Linked DNA regions of Homo sapiens: region 1 is linked to region 2. Evidence: promoter capture Hi-C in 16 types of primary human blood cells and fetal thymus (Javierre and others, 2016). All regions are on one chromosome and are shown on one strand. Each heading gives the region's core, a stretch centred on a gene start or on the middle of the fragment in contact. The rest is flanking DNA. Distances are from core to core; before and after follow the strand shown.

Region 1 (4,916 bases), core at 2,112-4,611, 530 kb before region 2:
CTACTAGGGAGGCTGAGGCAGGAGAATGGCGTGAACCCGGGAGGCGGAGCTTGCAGTGAGCCGAGATCCCCCCACTGCACTCCAGCCTGGGCGACAGAGCGAGACTCCGTCTCAAAAAAAAAAAAAAAAAAAAGAAAACCTGAGATCAGGCTGGGCGCGGTGGCTCACGCCTGTAATCCCAGCACTTTGGGAGACCAAGGCAGGTGGATCACAAAGTCAGGAGATCGAGACCATCCTGGCTAACATGGTGAAACCTTGTCTCTACGAAAAATACAAAAAAAATTAGCCGATCGTGGTGGCGGGCACCTGTAGTCCCAGCTACTCAGGAGGCTGAGGCAGGAGAATGGCGTGAACCCAGGAGGTGGAGCTTGCAGTGAGCCAAGATCGCGCCATTGCACTCCAGCCTGGGCGACAGAGCAAGACTCCGTCTCAAAAAAAAAAAAAAGAATACCTGAGACTGGGTAATTTATAAAGAAAAGAGGTTTAATTGACTCACAGTTCCATATGGCTGGGAGGCCTCAGGAAACTTAAAATCATGGCGGAAGGGGAAGCAAGGCACTTTCCCTTCCACATGGTGGCTGGAGACAGCCACAGGGGGTAACTGCCAAATGCTTTTAAACCATCAGATCTCGTGAGAACTCACTATCAGGATAACAGCATGGGGGAAACCGCCCCCAGGACCCGATCACCTCCCACCAGGTCCCTTCCTCAACAGGTGGAATTACAATTTGAGATATTATTTGGGTGGAGACACAGCCAAACCATATCACAGGGTTTACACGAATGCCTACCTCCTAAAGTGGATTTTGAAGAAATCATGGCATGGGAGAGCCCTGTACATAGAGCCTGGCATGGAGGCATCACTTCCTATACGGATCTGCGGCTGTGATTACTGTTAATTATCTTGCCTCCTTGTAGCGTTAGCAATAGAGAAACAGAAACACAGAGTTGCAGAGGGACCCAGCTAGGCACTGACAGAGCAGGAGACTAAGATCCTCTGGCCTTGTTTGACCTTTCACCATTTTTTCTCTTCCCCACCCTCGACTTTGTCAACCTAATCACCCACCCTGTCTCTTTTCTACCAGGCAAACCAGGACAGTGGTGAAGTGCAGCAGGTACTGTGAAGAGTTGATGTCCTATCCAGGGTTGGGGGTGGGCAGGGAGGATACCCTGCCAGTCACGATTCTACTATTGTAACAGAAAACAACTCAAACAGGTTTAAGGGGAAAAAAAAAATAGGCTCTATTGATGCATGAAACTAAAACTGGCTTCAGGTGCGGCTGGATCCAGGTGCTGGCTCCATATTTGGTCCTACGTTCCTCCCATTCCCAGGCCAGCTTTCTCTCCTTGTGTAAGTAGGAGGCAAAGTCAAGCACGCTTTCCTGATAGTTCCAGTTAAAGTCCTGGGGCTGATTCTCATGAGTTCAGCTGACATCAGGTGCCTGTCTCTGAGCCAGTCATTGTGGCCAAGGCAATAGAACGTTCTAGTTGGCCAGGCCTGATTCTTTTCCCCACAAACCTGCCATGTGGTGGTAAGGGAAGTTCTGCGAAGACGTTCAGGATCCTGGGCCTGGAGAAGAGGCATGAATGTCCACCACAGGGGCTCTGCCGGTCAGGATCAAGGTCACACTGGATGAGGGAGTCCTGACCCTCTCCCGGGCTGAGCCCACCTGTGCTGCCCCCAGGACCCCAAGTACCAGGGTCTGCGGGCACGTGGCCGGGAGATCCGGAAGGAGCTTGTTCACCTGTACCCCAGGGAGGCCCAGCTTGAGGAGCAGTTCTACCTGCAGGCGCTGAAGCTGCCCAACCAGACCCACCCAGACGTGGTGAGCACCGTGCTGGGTGGCAGGGAGGCCAGGGGCCCACCTAGTGCCACCTTTCCGTGACTCCTGCTGTCTCCCTGCAGCCCGTCGGGGATGAGAGCCAGGCTCGAGTGCTCCACATGGTCGGAGACAAGCCAGGTGGGCCACACCCCAGGCCTGGGAGCTGACAAGCCCTGCGGTGTGGGGGTTCTGGGGTCTCGGGGTGGGGGCCCCTGGGGTCTGGGAACATGTCTGGAGCCTGGAGAACTCCTGGCGGTACAGGAGGTGGCTCCAGCTTCCTGCCTTGGCCGAGCTCGAGCTGTCTCTGAGAGGCGGTCCTTGGGTTTTCATTCTCTCCCCCTTCACCATTGGGCAGTCTCACCCTGTGTTGTGTGATTGTATCGTATGTGTGTGAGTGTGTGTCGTGTATGTATGTGTTGTGTGACTGTGTGTCATGTGTGTCTGTATCTGTGTGTCTGTATCTGTATGTGTGTGTCTGTATCTGTGTATCTGTGTGTGTCTGTATCTGTGTATCTGTGTGTGTCTGTATCTGTGTGTGTGTGTCTGTGTTTGTGTGTGTCTGTATCTGTGTCTGTGTCTGTGTGTGTGTGTCTATGTGTGTGTCTATCTCTGTGTGTGTATATCTGTGTTTGTGTGTGTGTGTGTCTGTGTGTGTCTATGTATCTGTGTGTATGTATCTGTGTGTCTTTCTCTGTGTCTGTGTGTATGTGTCTGTCTCTGTGTGTCTGTGTGTGTATCTGCATATCTCCGTGTATCTCTGTGTGTATGTCTGTATCTGTGTCTGTGTATCTGTGTCTTTGTGTGTATCTGTGTGTGCGTGTCTGTCTTTGTGTGTCTGTATCCGTGTATCTGTGTGTCTGTCTCTGCGTGTCTGTGTATGTGTCTGTCTCTGTGTGTCTGTATATGTGTGTGTGTCTTCGTACCTCTGTGTGTATCTCTGTGTGTGTATGTATGTGTGTGAGTGTGTGTGTGTCTCTGTCTCTCTCTCTGACCCCCCTGCTTTGGTCCCTGTCTCCGGGGCTTTTTCTCCCCAACTCTGTGCCTCCTCTCTGATTCTCCTCCTCCCTTCCTCGTGGTGTTTCCTTCTCCTCTGGCCTCTCTCCTCTGTTTCTAACTCTGCCTTCCCCACCCCGCGCCCTCTTATTTCCCTCTCTGCCTCCTCTCATTTCCTCTCCCTGTCTCTGTTTTTATCTCCCTCCCTTCCTGTCTGTCTTTTCTTCCCTTTCCCTCCCTTTCCGTGTCTTCTTCTCCCTTCTCTCCTCCTGCCCCTCCTTTATTTTCTCTCACCGTCCCTCCTCTCTGCTGTCTCTGGAAGCTTCTATCTGGGCCCCATCCCTCTCTCCCCGCTGCCTTACACCGGTGCTTTTCACCCACATCCAGTTTTCTCCTTCCAACCTCGGGGCCACCTGGAAATTGGCGAGAAACTCGACATCATCCGTCAGAAGTGAGCCCCTCCCCTGGCTCCCCACGCCCCTCTCCCAGCTGCCTGCACCCCGACAGCTGGCTCCTGCCTCATTGGCCTCAGCGTGAGATGTGGAAATGCCATGAATCTTTGATGCCCCAGCCCCACCCAGCAGCCGGGCCTCTTCCCCCGGGTGTTTTCATCCCCACATTCCCTGCCAGCCTGGCCCATGTGCACCCGCCTGTCTGTCTGTCTCCCAGGCGCCTGTCCCACGTGTCTGGCCACCGGTCCTATTACCTGCGCGGGGCTGGAGCCCTCCTGCAGCACGGCCTGGTCAACTTCACATTCAACAAGCTTCTCCGCCGGGTATGGGCCAAGATAGGAGGGCTGCCTGGAGGGGGTGGCATCGAAGCTGAGCTCAGAGGGCCCAACGGGGATGGGAGTGATCTCTGCTCTGCCCTAGTCACTGCTCTCAGAGCTTCATGTGTATCATTGACACATTTAGTCCTTACGACAACTTTATGAAGTGGGTGCTGTCATCATCCCCACTTTACAGAGAGGGCTTGAGGCCCAGAGAGGGGAGGTACCTATAGCCCAAGGTCTCACAGCCAGTCTGGAGCTGGGCCTAGAGCCTGTGCTTGTAATCATTGCACCTCACTGCCTGCTTGCGGTATAAAGGGAGCATTTGGGAATCATAGCATCCATTGAAACATGGCAGGGACTGGTTGCATGGAGCATTGGTCACGGTGAGGAACTCAGACATTTTCAGAGGGTACTAGGGAGCCATGGGAGGCTTTTAAGCAGGGGAGGGTGTGGCCAAATCTGTACTTTTTTGTTTTTTGAGACGGAGTCTCGCTCTGTCACCCAGGCTGGAGTACAGTGGTGCAATCTTGGCTCACTGCAACCTCCACCTCCCGGGTTTAAGTAATTCTCCTGCCTCAGCCTCCTGAGTAGCTGGGATTACAGGCACATGCCACCATGCTGGCTAATTTTTTTTTTTTTCTTTTTGACAGAGTTCGCTCTGTCACCCAGACTGGAGTGCAGTAGCACGATCTCCATGCCGGCTAATTTTTGCCTTTTTAGTGGAGAGGGGGTTTTGCCATGTTGGCCAGGCTGGTCTCAAACTCCTGGCCTCAAGTGATCCGCCCACCTCAGCCTCCCAAAGTGCTGGGATTACATGGGTGAGCCACTGCGCCAGCCCCTGCCTCAGTTTCGTCTGAGGAGGAAGGGGCTCTGCAGCACCCCTTCTTCAGGGCTGAGCTTGGGGTCTGGTAGGGGTCCCAGCTCTGCTCACTCATCCTCTCCCCTGAACAGGGCTTCACCCCCATGACGGTGCCAGACCTTCTCCGCGGAGCAGTGTTTGTGAGTGAGGCCTCTCCGCTTCCCTCGCCCACCTGGGTGTCAGGCCCTGCCGTGGGTGCCCGAGGCAGGGAAACCTGAGGAGACCGCCCTGGGGCTGGGTTGAGGGGGCCAGGCCATACCAGGGAGGCCAGGGCAGCTCCAGATGTTTTCAGGGGAGGAGCTGGGGTTGGGACTGTAAAACGAGAGGCCAGGGTTACCTGTCCCCTGATCCCTGTGGCCTGGCCTCCTCCCCCAGGAAGGCTGTGGGATGACACCAAATGCCAACCCATCCCAAATTTACAACATCGACCCTGCCCGCTTCAAAGATCTCAACCTGGCTGGAACAGCGG
Region 2 (5,325 bases), core at 2,516-5,015:
ACTGATACGACTCCCCAGTTTTACTTGTTTTGTTTTTTGAAACAGTCTTACTCTGTCACCCAGGCTGGAGTGCAGTGGTGTGATCAGGGCTCACTACGGAATCAACCTCCCAGTCTCAAGTGATCCTCCTGCCTCAGCCTCCCAAAGTGCTGGGATTACAGGCATGAACCCCCACACCCAGCTACGCCCAATTTTACTGAACACACCTCTGATGCTCAAATATTTTCCCAACCCCTTGATCCCTACATTTTCCTAATACCTCCCTCTGATGCCCCTGTAGAAACCCCGAATCTTGCTGAATGGCCCAAAACATTGTTAACCCCTTTCTGATAACCCAACATCCCCCCTCTGGCTCAACAATACTTCCCAGACTTTACTGAACATCTCACAATATTATTGTGAATCCTCTTCTGATAATAATCTCTGGAAACTTTACCCAAAAAATATTCTCTCTCTCTTTTTTTTTTTTTTTTTCCAGATGAGCTCTCTCTGTGTTGCTCAGGCTGGTCTCAAACTCTGGACTCAAGCATTCCTCCGGCCTCAGACTCATGAGTGGCTGGGATTATAGGCACTGTACCCAGCCAGCACTTACTCCAAAACAGTCTTATCAGACTTCCACAGATTCCCCTTCAGATGCTAGCCAACACCCTATTGATGTTCCCTCAAATCCTTGCCTAGTATCACCATATTCCTTCACTCCATTTCAAATCCCTCCACTGACTCCTGCTCCAAAAAAAAAACCTTTCCCCCAAGCCTTTCACACAATCCATATCTTTCTACTACATCCCTAGCTGAAACTGATTCAACACTGTCCCTCCACATTGTGCCCGACAGCCCAGTTATTCCTGATGAACCCATGTATAGAATTGTCAACCATCTCTGACACTTTCAAATGGACCCCAGCAAATGCTTCACTATACTTAGGGCAGACAGGGGCCAGGTGGTGTAGGGCCTCGTGGCAAGGATCTCTGAGCAAGATGGAGGGTTTTGAGCAGAGGAGGGACATGGTGTGAGTCGGGGCGGGGGGGGGGGGGCAGTGCCCCCTGTGGAACAGCCTGGGGTTGGAGCGGGGAGGAGGAGCAGTACAGGGAGACAGCGAGGATAGTCTGGCTGGAAGTGGCAGTGGACAGGACCCTCCAAACACCCCATGTATCCTGCAATTCCCAACTCTTATCTACAGGACAGATATTCACTCCCAAACTTCACACCCCAGCTTGATTCCTAGGCTGGGAGGCAACCTGACCTCTGCTCCACATGCCAGCCCCTCTCCCCTCCCTCCCCAGGTCCCTACCCTCCCCGCATGCCCCAGGGTGGCTCACTTTCTGGTCCCGGAGGCGTTCCCCGTGGATGACGTAGTGCCCCTGGCGGGCCCCCCCCTCGGGCCTGGCCCCTCGGACCCGACACACGCTCACCTGGCTGAGGCCCCCGCCCCCCACAGGCAGCCAGCCCCCACTGGAGTCATCTCGGGCCATCACCACAGCTCGGACCCGCACCATGTACCTGCAGGAGGTGGGGGGAAGGACAGGGACAACACAGTCATGAGCTCAAACCCTGCTCTCCCATGGAATGTTCCCTCAACCCTCATCTCCCCTCCAACTTCATCTCTCACGTCCAGGTCCACTGCACCCTAAGCTAGCAATACCCACCTTCAACCCCATGGCCACCGTCTTCCACACAGCTCCTTTCTTCCTCATGCCATCTCTTCTCTCTCACCTCTATCTTCTTCTCCATGTCTGCCCTTTCTCTCTGTACCCACCTTTCCCCCATCTCTCCGTCCCCACCCCCATAGCCCTGGTGTTGCCCTTCCCTCCCCCTCCTGCTTATCCCTATCACCCCCTTCTCCTCCCTCAGCACATACCCACAGCCCCACCCAGTGCTCCCCCTCACAGCTGGGTGCCTGCGCATATATATTTTCTCTGGGCCCATCAACTCAGCTCCTGTTCTCCCAACCCTGCCTCCGCACCCTGTCGTCCAGGCCACAGGCTGGGTGAGAAACCCAGGCTCTTTCCCCCCCACCCACCCCTTCCCGGATTTATGAATGAGACCGGATGCAAAGCTCACTGAGTCACCCAGCAACGGGAGATGGGCAGGGAACAGGGAGAGAACCAGAAATGGCCAGAAAGAGAGGCTCAGAGGGAGACGGAGGCAGAGGAAGTCAGAAACGGGCGACCGAAGACACATCCAGAGAGCATTTCATTCACAAAAATCAAGGCTGCTCCCCCAGGCCCCAGCCGAGGGAAGCCAGGGGGGAAAGATGGGATGGGGGGGCAGATTGATCCTTCCTCCCTCTTCCCTTCCCGCCCCCCAGCCCCAGCATCCTTCAGAACCATTTTACCCCGCCCCCCAGCTCAGAGGACGTAGCCCTCCGCCCAGTAATCGGGATCAGTGTCCAGCCCTTCACTGCCATCCAGCACAGGGACCCTGGCGTCCCAACCTTAGGGACCCGGACGAGCTCTAGCCCCCTCCCCCACCTGCAGGCTGCTGGGTTTCCCGGGCCCTTCAGGAGGGGAAGGGGCGGCTGCAGCGCCCCCAGCCCCCTTTTCTCAATGGGATGGGATTTTGTGAATGAGCAGTCACGTGACGCTGCTTCCTTTGTCCGCCCGCCTCCCCCGACAACAGGTGAAGCAGGGAATGAGAGCAGGGGTCCCCCCAGGGCCTAGCTGGAATGGGGCACTGGCATTTCAGGGTGGCCTACGCTCCCCACACATCCTGTGTCCCCCGGGGGGAGTGGTCCTCAGCGTTCCTCAACGGTGAGGGTCCAGGACGGAATTTTGTGAATGGGGCATCCTCGGAGAAAGTCCAGACCCCACAAATGAAGACTGGTACCCTGAATGGCTGCCGCGCAGTTTGGGGGGTCCCCACTCTCTAGTCCTCCTAGCCGGGGCCTTGGGGGCGCCTGGGTGGGCAGAAGGCGCAGCGCGGTCACGGCCGCCCCCTCATCGGGGCAGGCAGTCTGTCAGCCCCCGCCCCCTCGCCCCCCTCGGCACCTGCCTGCGAGGCTCCGGCCGGGCTCCGAGCGGCGGCGACGCGGCCTCCTCCTCCTCCTTTTCGTTCCGGCTCCCTGGCTGGCTCCGGCGGCGCTGGAGACGGGCACCGGGAGCCGGGGCGAGGGGGGAGGGAGGGGGAACCTGGAAGACGGGTGGGGGGGGAAGGGGCGGCTTGGGGGAGGGGTAAGAGCGAGGCGGGCTTACTTGCCTGCTGGGTCCTAGAGCCCGGCACTAGCTCCAGAGAGCAACCCCCCAGCCCCCATTTTCTTAAGATCCAGAGGGGATCCCCCACTTTTCCACCCATCTGCGCCATTGGTCTCTAATGCTATGAGGAGGGGACGGGGCAGGGACAGGGACTGGTCTCAAGGTTCTAAAGAGGTGGTGGTCTACGCTGTGGCTTGGGTGCCTGGCAGAGTTCGATAAGGGGTGGGGCGAGAGGGGAGCCTTCACAAGTGGGTGGGGTTGGAGGGCCTGGGTATAAGGAGGTTTGGATGCTGCAGGCGAGGACTAGTGCGTGCGTCACGAAGGGGCGGGCCCACGGTGGATGGGCCTTCTCGGCGCCCGGGGGGAAGGAGAGGGTCTTGAGAAGCGATGTTGCCGGGTCTTAAAAAGGCGGAGCTTAGAGGTAAATTGCCTTAGGGGCGGGGCAGATGAGAGGTCCAAAGGGGAGGAGCGACGCATCGGTGTTCGCGTGGGCGGGGCCTCGGGAGGGAATGAGAGGGGCGGGACATTCTAAAGGGGAGGGGCTAAGGAGAACAACCCAAAGGGGTGGAGCTTAGAACCAGAAGGCCTGGGGGCGAGGAACAAGACCTCGGAGTATTTCAAGGGGAGACCTAGGTTCGTAAGGGGCCGGGCTCCCGCGGGCTCGCAGGAGGGCGGGGCCTCGAGCTCCGGGGGCGGGGCCTACATCTCGGGGTCCGCCCTAGTTGTCTCGCCCACTTGCCTTCACCCGCACCCCCGTTCTTTTCGGTTATTTTCTGCTACGGCAGTTCCCTGCCCTGCCCCGGGCCCAGGGCGCCGCGGTCTGAACTCTGCTCGGCTGGAGGACTCGGTGAGTGGGTTCCTCTGGGGGGAGGCGGGGCCAGGGCGGAGCTTGGGGACAGGGGTGGAGCTTGACTGTGGATGCCAGCTAGTAGACCTGGAGCGGGAAGAGGTTTAGGGGTGAGGCCTGAGGATCTGCCCCTGCCTGGGAAGAGGGCGGGACCCAGGTGCTCTAGAGAGAGGCGGGGAGTCGGAGAGTTAGAGGAGAGGACTGAGGGATCAGCATGACCAGCCAAGGGGACAGGCATGGAACCTTAGTACATAATGGGGCTGGTAGTGAAGTATCTTAACAGCAGCTGTGTTGGGGACATGGGCAAGAAGGCGTGAGTGTCGAAGGTCGGGGAACAGGAGTGCGACCTAAGGACTTGGGCCTGATCGGATCTTGGAGAACAGGGGCGGGGCCGGTGCGGACGCATTAGATCAAGTACAGCCAGCCTCGTAGGGTCCCCACGGCCCTGGCAGGCTGACTGGAGTAAATTTTTCTGACTAGTCTCCGAGCTCCGTCAGAAATGGGGAACTTGCAGTCGGAGCCATCCGCGGGCGGGGGCTCCCGAAAAGTGCAGCCCTCGGACCGCGCCCCCGACTCCCGCCGGACGTCCCTGGTGGAGCCCGAGATGACCTCCCAGGCCATGCGCCTGACTCGTGGGCTGGGTGTCTGGTTCCCTGGCAGCGCCACACCCCCGGGACTCATGGTACCCCGGGAGCCCCAGGCCTCACCCTCGACCCTGCCCCTCACCTTAGAACGGCCCTCTCCAGTGATGCCCCCTCCTGAAGAGGCGGCCGCGGTCTCTGCACCACCCCCGGCCCCCGCGGGGACTCTGCTGCCCGGCCCGTCTAAATGGCAAAAGCCCGCGGGCACTCCAGTTCCCCGGATCCGCCGCCTGCTGGAGGCGAGCCATCGCGGCCAGGGCGACCCTCCGAGCCTCCGCCCGCTGAAGCCGCCGCCGCCGCCCCGGCAACTATCCGTGAAGGACACTGTCCCGAGGGCCCCATCCCAATTTCCGCCGCCCCTGGAGACTTGGAAGCCGCCACCACCATTACCTTCTGAACGGCAGCCGGCGGACCGCAGAATCACTCCTGCTCTGGCCACACCCGCCTCACCCCCGACAGAAAGCCAGGCTGGGCCCCGCAACCAGGGCCAGACGGCCGGCAGGGCTCGCGGAGGGGCGCCTCCCCATGCGGGCGAAGGCGAAATGGCCCAGCCTGCGGATTCCGAGTCCGGTCTGAGCCTGCTGTGTAAAATCACCTTCAAGTCGAGGCCCTCTTTGGCCCCTCCGGCAGCCTCGAGTTCCTTAGC

Evidence for each region. Contacts are between HindIII fragments. The CHiCAGO score rates a contact against its expected background, and 5 or more counts as called.
Region 1: a fragment that was not itself captured here is called in contact with the fragment with the promoter of GGN in region 2 in 11 of 17 cell types (naive CD8 T cells, non-activated CD4 T cells, naive CD4 T cells and 8 more); the score reaches 10.5 in naive CD8 T cells.

The regions. Positions count from the first base shown.
Region 1 is chr19:38,918,437-38,923,352 of GRCh38, reverse strand. It overlaps SARS2 (seryl-tRNA synthetase 2, mitochondrial), which reads left to right. Exons shown (of 16, transcript NM_017827.4): 3 at 1,086-1,115; 4 at 1,686-1,826; 5 at 1,907-1,961; 6 at 3,204-3,267; 7 at 3,486-3,591; 8 at 4,540-4,587; 9 at 4,823-4,916. Among named protein-coding and RNA genes, the nearest start is that of CCER2, 8.7 kb to the right of the region's middle. RefSeq lists an enhancer at 4,344-4,916. The HindIII fragment of the contact is 441 bases long and covers 3,141-3,581 here.
Region 2 is chr19:38,386,474-38,391,798 of GRCh38, reverse strand. GGN (gametogenetin) reads left to right here and starts at 3,765. Exons shown (of 4, transcript NM_152657.4): 1 at 3,765-3,824; 2 at 3,977-4,038; 3 at 4,519-5,325. The coding sequence starts at 4,538. SPRED3 (sprouty related EVH1 domain containing 3) reads right to left here and starts at 3,102. Exons shown (of 6, transcript NM_001394336.1): 1 at 2,992-3,102; 2 at 1,320-1,500. The coding sequence starts at 1,496. RefSeq lists silencers at 1,976-2,270, 3,730-3,969. The HindIII fragment of the contact is 15,577 bases long and covers 1-5,325 here.